2 separate regions of the Homo sapiens genome follow, and region 1 is linked to region 2. The links are contacts of gene promoters, found by promoter capture Hi-C in human tissues and cell types (Jung and others, 2019). All regions are on one chromosome and are shown on one strand. The core of a region is centred on a gene start or on the middle of the fragment in contact, and the rest is flanking DNA. Distances in the headings are between cores, read along the strand shown. Region 1 holds the start of TUBG2 (tubulin gamma 2). Region 2 holds the start of COA3 (cytochrome c oxidase assembly factor 3).

Region 1 (4,408 bases), core at 825-3,324, 140 kb after region 2:
CTCAGGTTTGGTTGAAAGGCACTTGTTCCTCCTTAGTACAGTGGTTAGTAAAATTAACTAATTAAAATAAAATGAAAGATTAAACTAAAAGAAACGGGCTTGTTATAAATAACAAAAGACTGTCTTTCACCTTTATCACTCTGGAGCTGTTCTGGAGCTGTTTCAGAAACCAAGGACAAAAGGTCAAATATTTTAACAAAACATACTATTATTGCTCTAGTCCCTTAGGAAATTACATGGGTTATAAGAGCTGTAAGCCAGGAACATATCGCACCCAGCATGGGGAGAGATGGAGAGGCAGTCTCCAAGGATCTGGGGGAGAGACTTCGGCTTGGTTCATTCTCCATTCCCAAAACGCCAATGTCTCAAAGCTTCCTCTTATGCATCCAGGCTGAGGCTCCTTGGGAAGGTTTGGAGCTGGAGAAGCAGCTGAATGACTCATGCCTAAGGGGCCGGTGCCATTCAGATTTATGACTTCCTTGAGAACAAAGATTATATCTTATTCACCTCAATATCCCACATCTGATGCTCCATAAACGGGTTTTGAATTGAATTGCTCCCCTCATATTACCTATCCAGGCCACCTCCTGACCTGTCCCCAGCACTCTTCGGCCTCCCTGCCCATTCCTTCCCCCACTCCATAACTTCACCTCCAAACTGTCACTTCCATCTGCTTCTCGGTCTATGATGTCAAAGATGTCTTCATGAATTTTCTCACCCTGTATAGAGATATGGAAAGGGAGGGTCAGGCCAAAGGTTCCAGAGAGCATCTTTTCTCAGCACAGCACCAAGAATTCTGTCTACCCTGGAATATTGTTGCCACCCTGAAGCAGAGCCTAGGCTGTAGCCCTCAACCCAGAAGTGCTACTATTGCAAATGATTTGCACAAAATTTGCATAAACCTCTCCCTGGCTGTCCCTCTTGTTCGGGACATCCTTTTGTCTCTTATTTTCTGTCAGTCAGGTCAAATTCCTAGTAGCTTGAGCCTGCCTTGCCTCTGGATGGGAATATCAAAGGTCTCTGGAATGGTCGCTAGGACACCTGGGAGAATCCGCTGGCCCAGTTGTTGCCAGCTCCTCCTCCATGTTCCGACAGGTAGATGTTCTCTGGGTTGTAGAGCTTGGCATAGGGGGAGTTGAGGATGGAGTGGATCACCCGGGGTTCCAAGTCCAGCAGCACGGCCCGGGGGATGTAGTGCTCATCGTCTGCCTGTCAAGGGGAGTCCAGGAGGGGGCCCAATCAGCTAGGGCGGCCCAAGTCCGAAGTCCTCCCAACTCTGGCTCCCTCCGGCCCTCCCTCCTCAAGCCAGCCGCCTGGCCCTACTGCCCAGCGGGGTTCCCAGTACCAGGCCACTCCCTTCCCTTCCGCCCCCTTGGGCCACTGCCGCCCCCGGCCAAGTCGCTGGGGGCACCTGGTAGAAAAAGACGTCCTTGCGGTCAGTGCCCTCGGTGGCGAATTCCTCCACGATGCCCTCGGGGCTGATACCATGCTCGGCGCACAGCTGTTTCCAGAACTCGAACCCAACTGGGGGAGGGGGGAGATGCCCGGGTCTGCTGGAGCCTTAAGGCCTGAGGAGCCCAGTTTTAGTCTCAGAGGCTGACACGATCAGAGGGTGGACCCAAGATGCCTGGGTTTGGTAGCTGCCCCAGCCCCGGGCTGGAGGCGCAGCTCTCGGTCTGGGTTATCCAGAGCAGCAGGGCAGGGGGTTCATGGAAGGGAAAGGGGGACTGGTGGAAGCCAGGCACTTGGGTGGGACCCGAAGGGGCAGAACCAGAGACCGGCGGGGCCGGCGCTCGCTTGCTCACTCTGGTTGCCGCACTGGCCCAGCTGCAGGGTGATGATCTCCCGGGGCATCGCTCTTCAGACGTGGGCGCGCCAGCCCCGGCCTGGCGAGAGTCACGGCTGAGACGAATGCCCGGCAGCCAGGAGCGCAGGACGTGGGGAGCGCGCGCTCTCTTCGCCTCTTGACGCGGATGCTCGGTCTGCGCGTGTGCAGCGCAGGCCTCTCCTCGGCCGGTGGGCCGGGGAGCCCAACCTGGGCATCATTTTCTCCCTCAGCAGTCGCAGCTGGAATTCCGCACAGGCGCAGAGTCAGGCCACGCCCGCTCCTGCCCACCGCTCCGCGCCTGCGCAGTGAGACTCGTTGGGGGTGGCAGGGTCGGAACCTGGATGTGTTGGGGAGGAGAGGAACGGGGGAGGGGAGGAAAGGGGAGAAGCGGCCAGGTGGATGTGCTTGTCCACGTGTAAGGAGTCATCTACCTATATTGGTAGGTGAGGACACTGTCAGCTTTGCTAGATCAAAGGGCTAGAAGCCAACTTTTCTTCGTTTAAATTTCTGTTTTTTAATGGTGTTACAATACATACACATGTATGTTACCTTTTTATTTTTTAGAAGGGTCTCGCTCTGTCGCCCAGGCTGGAGTGCAGTGGCGCGATCATAGCTCACTGTAGCCTTGAACTTCTGGCTTAAGTGATCCTCCCACTTCAGTCTCCCGAGTAGCTGGGACTACAGGCGTGTGCTACCACGCCCAGCTAATTTTTAAATTTTTAAAATGTATTTTTATAGAGATGGGGATCTCACCGTGTTGCCCAAGATGGTCTTAAACTACTGGCCTCAATCAATCCTCCTGCCTTGGCCTCCCAAAATGCTGGGATTACAGGCATGAGCCACCACTCCTGGCCTAAATTTACCATTGTAACCATTTGTAAGTACTGCATACAGTTCTGTGGCACCAAGTACACTCACATTGTTCTGTAACCACCACCACCATTCTTTTCTAGAACTTTCTTATCTTCCCAAACTGAAACTCTATCGCGATTAAACAGTAACTTCCCCTTGACTACTCTAGGCACCTGATATGAGTGGAATTATACAGTATTTGTCTTTTTGGGTCTGGCTTCTTTCACTTAACATAATATCTTCAAGATCCTTCCATTTCGTAGCATGTGTCAGAATTTCCTTCCTTTTTACAACTGAATAATATTCCATTGTATAGATGTACCACATTTTGCATAACCATTCATCCCTCCATGGACATTTGGGTTGCTTCCACCTTTTGGCTATTGTGAATGTTGCTGCTTTGAATGTGAGTGTACAAATATCTGTTCGAGTCCCTGCTTTCAATTATTTTGGATATACACCCAGAGGTAGAATTGCTGGATCATATGGTAATTGTGTTTAATGTTCTGAGGAATCGCCATACGATTTTCCATGGTAGCTGCACCATTTTAAATTCCCACCAGCAATGCACAAGGGTTCAGTTAAATAAATTTTATAGGAGGCCATTGATTTGCACTGAGCTCCTGTGCTTGGCTCAACAGACCAAACCAAAATGGAGTCACTCACGCTAAAGTTCTATGTCACTAAGCAACACTAAGTTGTTTATCAAACCTTCAGAGGAATCAGGAGAGGGAAGGAAGAGCCAAAACCCCAAACAAGCCAGTGTGAGCCGGCATGATACGGAAGTCCTTTTACAAGAAAAGTAACTTTGAAAGGACCCATCTGCTTTTTTTCCTTCTGTTTCTATTTTTCTCTACCCTTTTTTGTCCATAAAAACTAACCTGTGCTTGACTCATCTGAACACTCATTCTATTTATTTTATGGAATGAAACGTAGCCTGATCTAGAATCACAAACACTGTAAATGCCACTTAAGATTTTTTTTTTTTTTTGAGACTAAGTCTCACTCTGTTGCCCAGGTTGGAGTGCAGTGGCATGATCTCGGCTCACTACAACCTCTGCCTCTCTCAGGTTCAAGCGATTCTCCTGGCTCAGCCTCCCTAGTAGCTGAGATTACAGGTGTGCACCACCACACCCGGCTAATTTTTTTGTATTTTCAGTAGAGACAGGGGTTTTGTCATGTTGCCCGGACTGGTCTCGAACCCCTGAGCTCAGGTAATCCACCTGCCTCAGCCTCCCAAAGTGCTGGGTTACAGGCATGAGCCACCATGCTCAGCCAAGTAGCCAAGTTACAATCTTTTTTTTTTTTTTTTTTTAGATGGAGTTTCGCTCTCGTTGCCCAGGCTGGAGTGCAATGGCTCGATCTCAACTCACCGCAAGCTCCACCTCCCGGGTTCAAGCGATTCTCCTGCCTCAGCCTCCCAAGTAGCTAGGATTACAGGCATGCACCATCACGCCCAGCTAATTTTGTATTTTTAGTAGAGACGGGGTTTCTCCATGTTGGTCGACCTCATGTGATCCACCTGCCTTGGCCTCCCAAAGTGCTGTGGGATTACAGGCGTGAGCCACCACGCCCAGCCTTTTTTTTTTTTTTTTTTTTTTGAGACGTAGTCGCACTCTGTAGCCCAGGCTGGAGTGCAATGGCTTGATCTCAGCTCAGTGCAACCTCTGCCTCCCAGGTTCAAGCAATTCTCCTGCTTCAGCTTCCCAAGTACCTGGGATTATAGGC
Region 2 (4,001 bases), core at 1,009-3,508:
ACCCGCCTCAGCCTCTCAAAGTGTTGGGAATACAGGCGTGAGCCACCGTGCCCGGCCGTGTCTGTGTGTTTCTTTTAATGACCACTATACTTCCAGTCTTCCAGGCTCAACCGTTTAGCATAGTCACGTTTTCCTCCTTCACTTCCTAAATTTATCCACAGCAGAACCCTAGACTTTGCCTCTAGAATGTTTTTAATCCACCCTCCCTTGTTATTCCCTCTGCCCTATCACCTAGCCTACTGACATTGACTCTACCTGTCTGCCTACATCCCATCTCCCTCTGGTTTAATCCATCCTTTACCTCCTTTACATCACTGCCAAAATAATGTTTACTAAGGCAGGGTTACCATCGTATCCCTTATTTTAAAACCTTCACTCCCTTATTTAAAAACCTTCAATGTCTTCTTGGTTTCCTACCAAACCAAGGATAAACTCTTCCCCTTGGCATTCAAACTTCCACATGGAATGTCTCCAAACTACCTTTCCAGTATTAATTTCAACTATTCTTCCACATGCACTGGCCAACATGGACTACACTGTACCCACATGCACCCTAAGCACCCCATTTCCATAGCTTTACTCATGCTACCTCTTTTTGGTAGAAACACTGTCTCCTTCCTCCCCCTTCACCAACCCAATGTCCTCCTTCCTTCAAGGTCTGCCTGAAATGTCCCGATGCCTGGGCCATCCCCTGAATTCTTCCTATTACCCCATCGCTCCTCTCAACCCCCATAAACGCTTGTTTTATTTCTCTCTGACGTCTCTTATCTAACCATAGTACCTAGTCATTGCATATTTGTTCTAATATCTCCCCCAAATTGCACATGGTTTGAAGGCAAGACCTCTATCTCTATTTCATCTTTCTTTTCTCTTTTTTTTTTTTTTTTTTTTTAGACAGAGTCTCGCTCTGTCACCCGTCACTCAGGCTGGAGTGTAGTGGCGCCATCTCAGCTCACTGCAAGCTCCGCCTCCCGGGTTCATGCCATTCTCCTCCCTCAGCCTCCGGAGTAGCTGGGACTACAGGCGCCCGCCACCACACCCGGCTTTTTTTTGTATTTTTAGTAGAGACGGGGTTTCACCATGTTAGCCAGGATGGTCTCGATCTCCTGACCTCGTGATCTGCCCGCCTCAGCCTCCCAAAATGCTGGGATTACAGGCGTGAGCCACCGCGCCCAGCCTTTTTTTTTTTTTTTTTTTTTTTTTTTTTTTGAGACGGAGTTTCATTCTTGTCGTCTAGGCTGAAGTGCAATGGCACGATTTCGGCTCACTGCAACTTCCGCCTCCTGGGTTCAAACAGTTCTCCTGTCTCAACCTCCCGAGTAGCTGGGATTAGAGGTGCGCGCCACCAGTCCTGGCTAATTTTTGTACTTTTAGTAGAGACAGGATTTCACCATGTTGGTCAGGCTGGTCTCGAACTCCTGACCTCAGGTGAACCTCCCACCTCAGCCTCCCAAAGTGCTGGGATTACAGGTGTAAGCCACCATGCCTGGCCCTCTATTTCATCTTTCTAGCCAAGCGGTGCCACTCAAGTATTCCATACATGTCGAAGAAATCAAGGGGAGGGCACTGTTGTGACTTATCCATCACTATATCCCCAGCACCCCACAGAGAGGTGTTAGCAAACATTCTCTGAATGAATAAAATCAACGGAATCTCAAGGTCGGTGCCTGAAAGACACAAGCCCCAGTCTCCCAAGAACCCAGCACCCCGGCCCTGCAGCCGCACCCACGATCTGGGGCTCCCTGAAGCGGCCCAGCCGCCCCGAAGCCTCCCTCACTGCTTGCTCATTCTGCTGGGCCAAGTGAAGCAGGGCGTCTTCAATCGTCTCTGTGGCGACAACTCCAAACTGAAAGTCAACGAGGGAGGCCGATCGTGGCCTCATGGGTCCGTCCATATTCACGAGCCTCTTGGGGCACCTGGACGGGTTCACTGGATCCACATACCGACCCCCTTAGCTCCTCTCCAGTCTTCTGCCACACCCTGGATTCCTCGTCCCCTTCCAATGAGTGTGTCGTCGCCTCAAGTCTGAGGAAAACCCAATTACCACCACAGCCTCGAACCCTCCACAGCTTTTTCCCGCCCCAACGGCCACGGACTCCTCAGCCAATCAGAAAGCACGTCCGCTTCTCACCTCCCGCGTCCATCCCCTGTGCCCGGGAACCGCGGCTCTGCCCCGCAAAGGGCACGCGGACTACAACTCCCAGAGTCCACTGCAGCGGCCAAGGGCTACTGTTCCCAGCGAGGCCCGCGCGGCGGCACCGCGAAGGGAGGAGTGGCAACATGGCGTCTTCGGGAGCTGGTGACCCTCTGGATTCTAAGCGTGGAGAGGCCCCGTTCGCTCAGCGTATCGACCCGACTCGGGAGAAGCTGACACCCGAGCAACTGCATTCCATGCGGCAGGCGGAGCTTGCCCAGTGGCAGAAGGTCCTACCACGGCGGCGAACCCGGAACATCGTGACCGGCCTAGGCATCGGGGCCCTGGTGTTGGCTATTTGTATCCGTCCGTGTTGTAGACTCAAGGGGACCGCATATAGGGGCAGGGGAACAGAGTGTGCAAGAGGGCTGAACCACCCGTTTAATTTTGGGGTAAAATGGGTAGTACTTTCCTTTGTTATTCCTAAGGTACTCTTTTAATTTGATTTATTAATAATAACGGAATTGGGGTTCAGGGTTTAGAAACAGCAGCGGCGGGAAGCCGGAATCACTGATTTGGGAGAGTAACAAGAGTGGTAGAGCAAATCTAGGAAAGGGGAATGTGCATATTCTGTGTGGTTTCCTGAACCTACCTCCCCAGATGGTTACACCTTCTACTCGATTTCCCAGGAGCGTTTCCTAGATGAGCTAGAAGACGAGGCCAAAGCTGCCCGAGCCCGAGCTCTGGCAAGGGCGTCAGGGTCCTAATCTGGATGGGTATTGATCATGTCCAACCTGCTGGAGCCCCTTCACATGGTGGATGATGCCCCATGACCCTGTAGAAATTGAATCCTGCTCACAACATTGTTGGCCTTCTTACTAACCTTGGACCGTGATTGAGCCCAAGAAACCAGGGACTTACGCATTTGGCCAATGTCAAAAGAACAGAACTTTGCCCACTGCACACTTGCTGTGTACAATGACTGAGCCCTTTCTTGTAGTTTGTTTCCTTGTTTGAGAGGTGTGCATGCGACCGTGGCTTTTCCCAAAGTTTCTGACTTTGTGGTTTACCCCCTTCACCTTCCAGGGACGCAGTTGTTACGAGGTTAGACGTGGCAGCTCTGTGCAGTGTTTGAGCCTACAGTGGGATACATAGGGTCAAATTGAGAATAATAAACTGAGTCATTCTCCTGGAGTCAAGTGAGTATGGAGGCTGAGAGGCAGCATATGGCACTTCATGCTGGAAAGCTTCACAAGCAGTAGCTGCAGTGGTGGCATTGCCCCAGGGAGCTGTAAATGTTTAACTAGAATTACTTTTTCCATGAGATCTTTCCACCTGATTTAAGGGAGAGATCACTGGGCAGTTTGAGACTGAACCCACGTCTTAGGGGAAGGAAGGTCACTCTTCTGTCCTCTACCCACAAGAACATACTGTAACTCTACTGCTTTTCCCATCCCCAGAGAGAGGGAGGGAGAGAGAGGTGGATGAAGGGTGAAAGACAAGCAGTCTTCATTCTTTTAACTTTCCCTGGTACCTGCCTATACAGGTCTAGGGTGGGGTCTGGAGGGGATCCTAACTTAGTCAAGTGGATCACTGACCTTGCAGTTTCCTCATTAACTGATGGCAGGAAGCCAGAGGGCTGGGCAGCTTCCACCCCTGCCTCCCATTGTGAAAAGAAAGTCCCTTTTAAATCCTCCCCTGCCTCACCCCACAAGTCTTTGCTCCCCCAATTCCTAAGGCATGGCATATGGATTCACGGCGTTCTTGTTTCCAGCATTTTTATTGGTTGCTGCTAATGTGGTGTGAGCATATCCCCTACACTCTCCCAGCTGGGAGTGGGCCCCTCTAGAAGCATCCAGGCTTGGGT

Evidence for each region. The method cuts DNA at HindIII sites, captures the fragments that hold promoters and counts their contacts. A contact is called where the count stands out against the background at its distance.
Region 1: the fragment with the promoter of TUBG2 here is called in contact with the fragment with the promoter of COA3 in region 2 in 3 of the 25 tissues and cell types used here (mesenchymal stem cells, neural progenitor cells and small bowel).

Annotation. Positions count from the first base shown.
Region 1 is chr17:42,656,950-42,661,357 of GRCh38, reverse strand. TUBG2 (tubulin gamma 2) reads right to left here and starts at 2,074. Exons shown (of 11, transcript NM_016437.3): 1 at 1,806-2,074; 2 at 1,412-1,524; 3 at 1,042-1,209; 4 at 651-719. The coding sequence starts at 1,854. RefSeq lists enhancers at 1,858-1,927, 1,978-2,047, 2,058-2,117, 1,475-2,242. The HindIII fragment of the contact is 23,957 bases long and covers 1-4,408 here.
Region 2 is chr17:42,796,961-42,800,961 of GRCh38, reverse strand. COA3 (cytochrome c oxidase assembly factor 3) reads left to right here and starts at 2,258. Exons shown (of 2, transcript NM_001040431.3): 1 at 2,258-2,494; 2 at 2,795-3,337. The coding sequence starts at 2,281. The coding sequence ends at 2,901. It overlaps CNTD1 (cyclin N-terminal domain containing 1), which reads right to left and starts at 2,101. Exons shown (of 7, transcript NM_173478.3): 1 at 1,726-2,101. The coding sequence starts at 1,894. It overlaps WNK4 (WNK lysine deficient protein kinase 4), which reads right to left. Exons shown (of 19, transcript NM_032387.5): 19 at 3,896-4,001. RefSeq lists enhancers at 2,246-2,295, 2,316-2,365, 2,506-2,575. The HindIII fragment of the contact is 12,523 bases long and covers 1-4,001 here.